Regions from separate parts of the Homo sapiens genome. Here region 2 is linked to region 1. Evidence: promoter capture Hi-C in 16 types of primary human blood cells and fetal thymus (Javierre and others, 2016). All regions are on one chromosome and are shown on one strand. Each heading gives the region's core, a stretch centred on a gene start or on the middle of the fragment in contact. The rest is flanking DNA. Distances are from core to core; before and after follow the strand shown.

Region 1 (4,187 bases), core at 1,112-3,611:
CTGTGTTTAACAAGAGTTGTACAAGGAGGCGGGTTCCAGATTCCGCACGGCTCTGCTACACCATTATTCACATTTTTACAGCCTTTCCTTCATGCCTTCACCCATTAAACCATTAAATTTCAGCAATTCAATAAAACAAAGCAGTTATAATTTTGACGAAAAGCTATTTTGAAGGGGGTGGAGGTACCCATTTTATTGCACAATAAAAATGCTCAACAGTCCATATTAAAGGCTAGCTTGTGTTTATTTTCTTCTTTCTTTATTCATTTTGTTTTGTTTTGTTTTTACTTATAACCTGCAGGATTGAACCCAAAGCTGCCATTACTGCAAGAATTAATGCTTATTGCCAAGAAATTCAAATAAAGGAAACTCATTGGAAATGTTCAGAGAGGAAACGATGACAGTGATAATTCCAAATATGATGCTTTCTCCATAAACTATCCATAGAGATGGCACAGCTCTCGATCAACCTTTGCCTGGTTGGCTTGAAATGTTTTAAGTCTTTGACATAAAAATTGTGAAAGGACTCGTCGTTTCCAAAGTGAGATGAAGATTTTGTTACTGCTGTTTATTAAAATTTTTTCGTTGTGTTTCCACACATGCCTTTAATTCCCCATATTTGAACTTCATTGCAACTTAAAGAAAAAGTCCATTTGAAATTTGATGGTAGCATTGTCTTTGTTTGCTTGTCAGTTTTATAAAAGAAATGACATTCCTAAGTCTCATACCGAAGCCCCCTGTTAAACATCGTTCACACCAATGTGAATGGCACTATCGAATCAACTCTTTTCAGAATATTTCTGATTACTTCCCACGGCCATCTCCCCAATAACGGCTTTGTGCAGTCTACTTTTACTTGGACTGCAAATGAATTAAGTTGGAAACATATTTTATTGTATCCCCAAAGAAAAAGATCACATTCTAATCATTATCACTTTTTTTTTTTTTACAAGTAATGTTACGGATGACAGCAAAATACAAATTTTAAAATCCTGGCTTTAATATTTGAGCATTTTGTAACATCACAAATTTCAAAAATGCTTTCTTTTAAAATCTGAAAAGGACACTTTTGGGGCAGTAAAATCCTTAATTTGGGGGGAGGGTCCCACATTTCTCCGCCCACCAAAAAGTGATGCAGGGAATTTCTATTTTTAAAAAATCGATTTGATACCAAACCTCTGGAAAGGGATGGGATTCGCTTTTTTAAAAGCCAGTTTTTATGGTTTTCAAATAAGACATCTTAGAGGTAGACTGGTTTATGAGAAAACGATAAAAAGGTGAAAGATTATTCTATCAGTAAATAAAAAGCAAAGATATTTCTTGATTTCAAAATAATATTTTATTGGATCAGTTCTAATTGTGGATCAGTCAAAGAAACTGAGGCATACATGTGGACTGTGGACTGGGATCTGGACCGGAAGGAGAAATTCTACTTAAAGGACGGTGCTTATTTAGCGGCTTCTCTCTGCAGAGATGCCGTTTGGCCTGCCCCGCCACTGTATCTCCGAAAGGCAAAAGTTAGAATCGCTGCCCGATCTCCTCTCCCCCGCCCCTACTGTAGATCTAATTGGAAGTGGCAGATCTAGAACCGATGAGTAGTGAGATTACACTTCCATCCAACTCCTTTGAACCATGTTGAAAAGGACTCTCCATGAGATAAAAAGTCGAGGTAAAACGGTTCCTTTGGGGGAAAGACTTATTTTGACTTCACCTGGTGTTTCGCGGAGCCAAATCACTCAAGTTGTCTTGCAACCAATAGACTTTATCTTCTTCACTCCGTCTACTGTCTATGCGCCCTAGGTGAGCGCTAGGCAGGTTGGGTGTCCAAACAAGAAGTTTCTAGCATCACCACTACAGGTAGGACGGGCTATTCACCCTTCTCTCCCAAACAGCAGCCCAGGGCTCTTCCACCCCACAAGAGAGGTGGAGGTAGAGGCAGAAAGTACTTGGGTGCCAGAAGGCACACAGAGAAGTGAGGCCAAGGTTTTTGAAACTGGGACTGCCCCTCGGGGGTCCTCAGCCCCTCACCACCCCGCGCCCTCTGCCCGCGTGCCGGCGCGCGCTCCGCGAGGTGCGTCAAGGAAGAGCGGGGCGCTGCGCGCGCAGGCCAGGCTCAAACTTTCTGCAAGTGCAACTTGGGCATCCCCGGGGAGGCGGGGACGTGTGGCTCCAGCGGAGGAGGGGGCGCGAAGCGAAAGCGCAGGCGGCCGCAAGCACGGGGGCGAATCCCCGCTGGGTCGAGGGCCTGAACGGGAGCCAATCGAGCAGCCGAGGCTACTGCCAATCACGCGGCTCCCTCCAATCCCACCCGTGCCATTTCCAAAATCTCGGTCCCACTGTGCAGCTCAAATGTGGTGTTCACTCTGCCAATCGCTGGAGGATAGAGTGGGAACAGGAATAAGCAGAGTTAAGAGGCCAGGACAAAAGAAGTTAAAGAGCGCCCAATACATACATGTTTTTGAAGGCGGGCAGAGGGAATAAAGTCCCCCCAGTGAGGGTCTATGGGCCTGATTGTGTAGTTCTGATGGAGCCCCCTTTGAGCAAGAGGAACCCGCCAGCGCTGAGATTAGCGGATTTGGCAACGGCTCAGGTCCAGCCGCTTCAGAATATGACAGGCTTCCCGGCGCTGGCCGGCCCGCCCGCCCACTCCCAACTCCGGGCCGCCGTCGCGCACCTCCGCCTGCGGGACCTGGGCGCTGACCCCGGCGTGGCCACCACTCCGCTCGGACCCGAGCACATGGCCCAGGCGAGCACGCTGGGCCTCAGCCCTCCCTCCCAGGCGTTCCCGGCACACCCGGAGGCTCCGGCAGCCGCCGCCCGTGCTGCAGCCTTGGTCGCGCACCCCGGCGCGGGCAGCTACCCCTGCGGCGGGGGCAGCAGTGGCGCGCAGCCCTCCGCGCCCCCGCCCCCAGCCCCTCCTCTTCCTCCCACCCCTTCACCCCCTCCCCCTCCCCCGCCTCCTCCTCCTCCTGCCCTCTCGGGCTACACCACCACCAACAGTGGCGGCGGCGGCAGCAGCGGCAAAGGCCACAGCAGGGACTTCGTCCTCCGGAGGGACCTTTCCGCCACGGCCCCCGCGGCGGCCATGCACGGGGCCCCGCTCGGAGGGGAGCAGCGGTCCGGCACCGGCTCCCCCCAGCACCCGGCCCCGCCTCCCCACTCGGCCGGCATGTTCATCTCCGCCAGCGGCACCTACGCGGGCCCGGACGGCAGCGGCGGCCCGGCGCTCTTCCCCGCGCTGCACGACACGCCGGGGGCCCCAGGCGGCCACCCGCACCCGCTCAACGGCCAGATGCGCCTGGGGCTGGCGGCGGCAGCGGCAGCCGCGGCGGCTGAGCTGTACGGCCGCGCCGAACCGCCCTTCGCGCCGCGCTCTGGGGACGCGCACTACGGGGCGGTTGCGGCCGCAGCGGCGGCCGCCCTGCACGGCTACGGAGCCGTGAACTTAAACCTGAACCTGGCGGCTGCGGCGGCCGCAGCAGCGGCCGGGCCCGGGCCCCACCTGCAGCACCACGCGCCGCCCCCGGCGCCGCCGCCGCCGCCGGCGCCCGCGCAGCACCCGCACCAGCACCACCCCCACCTCCCAGGGGCGGCTGGGGCCTTCCTGCGCTACATGCGGCAGCCAATCAAGCAGGAGCTCATCTGCAAGTGGATCGACCCCGACGAGCTGGCCGGGCTGCCGCCGCCGCCGCCGCCGCCGCCGCCGCCGCCGCCACCGCCCCCGGCCGGCGGCGCCAAGCCCTGCTCCAAAACTTTCGGCACCATGCACGAGCTGGTGAATCACGTCACGGTGGAGCACGTGGGAGGCCCCGAGCAGAGCAGCCACGTCTGCTTCTGGGAGGACTGTCCGCGCGAGGGCAAGCCCTTCAAGGCCAAATACAAGCTCATCAACCACATCCGCGTGCACACCGGCGAGAAGCCCTTTCCCTGCCCTTTCCCCGGCTGCGGCAAGGTCTTCGCGCGCTCCGAGAACCTCAAGATCCACAAGCGTACTCATACAGGTGGGTGTCTGTCCCCGGCCGCGCCGCCGCCGCCGCCACCAGCTCCTGCGCCGCCGCCGCTTCCGCCGCTGCTTCTCCTCCTCCTCCTGCTCGCCTTAATTTTTTTCTCCTTCTGCTGCTTCTCTTCGCATACGTATAACCCGGACATGTGACTTCTTTTTTTTTCTCTCCCCCCCTTTTTTTTTT
Region 2 (2,946 bases), core at 248-2,747, 560 kb before region 1:
CAAGGACAGGCCAAGACACGGAAAGGCTGGGAGTGTGCACAAGGTGCAGGGAGACCCCACTGCTTCCCCTCACACCTGGCAGAGGATGGCGGGTTCCTTTCTGGAGAGCCTGACAAGAACACCTCCGCTGGGGACACAGGCCTAGCTGAGTGGTGGTGAGGTGGCACCCTGAAAACAAGCATTGGGGGAAAGTGCAGAGCTCCCAGCGCCGCTCCCCAGAGTCCCGTGTGAGGCCTGCCACCTGACAGCTCAGCCTCACTTCCAAAGAGTGGCTCAGCTTTCCCAGCCAAGATCACATGTGAAGAAAATCTCTTGAAACACAGATACCAAAACAGAGAGAAAAGAGGGAGTTAGGAGAAATGGAGGCAATGAAGGGAATGAAGAAAACTTAAAAAATATATATATATTGAGCCTGTGAATGAACAAGAAGTTGAAAAAAAAAACACACAACAAGAAAAATATATTGGAAATAAATATCATGGCAAAAAAATTTTTAATAGAAGAAATGCAAGATAAAGCAGAATATAATATAGACCTGGAGGAAAGGAGAAAATATAAAAACATTGGAGGCTGAAGTCAGGACCTCCACTGCCGGAATATTGGGAGAGCCAGAAAGAGAACAGAGAGGAAGGAGGGGTAAGAAAATGCCCCCGTGATCCAGGATAAGGAGCATTCAGATCAAAATTCCAGCACAATCAATGAAAACAGAGTCTACATCATCAGAAAATTCTAGAATCTGAGGGATAAAAGGAAGCCCTTAAGAGCCTCCAGGGAAGAGCTCGAGTCACACACACAGGGGACCTGGATCACAGCACACTGACTTCTCTGCAAGAACTCGGAAAGTTAGAAGACAATGAAGAAATGTCTTTAAAGTTCTGAGGGAAATGATTTCTAGAATCCTCTACGCAGCCATGTTATTAACCAAAAGTGGGAGAGAATACACTTCAGCAAAATGTGGCCAACATCCCAGCCAGAGGACGGGACAGGAATGAGGGTGGCCTGGATGGCAGCGACACAGAGAGCCCAGACTAGAGCTGGCAGGGAGGACCTTCCAGCGGATGGTCAGGACCCGGGTTCTGGCCATGCTCTCAGAAACTGCGAGGCTGAATTACAATCCTAGAAACTAAGCGAAATGCAAAACAAACAAAAAAAACAAACTTGAAGCAATTTTTAATTTCAAGGAAAACATAAAGTTGTCCAAGAAAGGAAATGTAATCATAGTATGCTCTGTGTCTTAGCCAAGAGCCGTGTTTGCATGGTTCTAATGCCGAAATAGATCTGGGTCTGACCCAAAACTATGATGAGTCTGTTGGGAGGATGGCGGGATGTGGTAGGAGAGCCAAGGGTCAGGCTTCTACAGTGATGACAGCAGCGGCACACGCTACATGTCAGCAGATCACACAGGACCACGTGTGTTGGTACCCACCGCGGTCTCTGAGGCAGGCTGCTACTGTGACTTCAGTTTACAGTTGAGGAAGCTGAGGCACAGAGAGGTTATATGATCTGCCTAAAGTCACACAGTTAAAGTCTGTGCTTTAGAACCACTATGCTCACCCACTTTTTGAGTAGAAGGGCAAGATATGATTTAAGACATCAAGAAGTAGCAGCGTAAGTAACAATATGGAGATAAATGCTGAACACAACAGTTAAAAGCCTTAAAAGTGTTGCCTCCAGGGAGTGGAAAGGGGTAGGAAACTTCATTTTTCTTACAAAGCAATCTATTGACATTTTGGACACATGCCATTTTAAAAAACTGCATCAGGGAAAGCCAGGCAGGCACCTGGCAGTGGAGAGCTGGTCTGCAGTGTGACTACGGCCCTGCCCGGCTGGCTGGTCCTAGATCGCCACCAGCCTGGGACTCGGCTTCCTCACCTGCAGGTGCTGGACCAAACAGTTTCCAAGTTCTCTTCTGGCCCTTCATGTTCCAGCAACAAACAAGACCAGTGATTTAGAGAGCACGTGTGCTATAACGACAACCAGACAGAGTGATGTGACAGACTGAGTAGGCCCTGCCTACTACTCCTGCACCCTCCAGGTCAGGCGCTGGTCGGGGCAGGAGCCACCTGGATGAGGGGAGAGAGGGTGCAGGAGATGAGGTGGGAGAGTTAAGTCTGCAGCAGGAGATTGACAAGGACCCTCTGGGTGGTGCACTGGGGGCAGGATCCAGGGGAACAAAGACAACAGGGATGCAGGCAGGCATTGGAGGAGGAGAGCAGGTTGGGAGACGTGGCAGGGGAAGTGCTGATGGGTCTCGCTGGGGGCTGGGATGCAGGTGTGGGGAGGGACATGAATCCTTCCAAATGCTGAGTCCCCAAGGCAGCTGCACAGCAGGATCCAAACCATCATCGCCCCCCAGGTGCTCGTCTTTTGGGATAGCTCCTTGCCCGCTGTTGTAGACAGCTGCTTCCATCCAGTGCCCTCTCCAGACACCAGCGCTGCTCTCAGCTGGTGCCTTTTGTCATTTTCACGTACACCCCAGCAGCCGAGTCCTGGCAATTTTAGGCCTGAGCACTTGCCTCTTCTCTTCCTCAGTACCGTCCTACCCCAGGTTCTCCTTAATTCACATCTCAACTTTCCTATCCCAGCATGCCCCCCAGGTCTAATCTGTGTCCCCACACTGGGAAGGGTGTCCCAGGGCTATCACATGGCCAGGCCCACAGGGCGCACGTATCTGGCTAGCCTTGTGTTTTTCCCACGGCCACACCTTTCCTAGTGCAATGTGCCTGAAATCTGGGGAATACTGTTGTTGCACAGGCTGGTGATAGAACCAAGAGGCAGCAGACGTGCCTCTTGAGCAAAATGAGGCCTAGAACCCCCCAGAGCAGCTCTTGTTTGCTGAGAAGAAAACAGAAGTCCCATGAGTTCAGTGTGACTTCTTCAGTTTCTTCAGGGTCCACTTGTCCACATGATTGGTGGCAAGTGTGGTGTCCGGGGCCATTTCTGGCG

What was found. Contacts are between HindIII fragments. The CHiCAGO score rates a contact against its expected background, and 5 or more counts as called.
Region 2: a fragment that was not itself captured here is called in contact with the fragment with the promoter of ZIC5 in region 1 in 1 of 17 cell types (M2 macrophages); the score reaches 6.0 in M2 macrophages.

Annotation. Positions count from the first base shown.
Region 1 is chr13:99,969,941-99,974,127 of GRCh38, reverse strand. It overlaps ZIC5 (Zic family zinc finger 5), which reads left to right and starts at 2,361. Exons shown (of 2, transcript NM_033132.5): 1 at 2,361-4,001. The coding sequence starts at 2,525. The HindIII fragment of the contact is 20,418 bases long and covers 1-4,187 here.
Region 2 is chr13:100,534,005-100,536,950 of GRCh38, reverse strand. The region is part of intron 2 of GGACT (gamma-glutamylamine cyclotransferase); the gene reads left to right. Among named protein-coding and RNA genes, the nearest start is that of GGACT, 53 kb to the left of the region's middle. The HindIII fragment of the contact is 7,689 bases long and covers 1-2,946 here.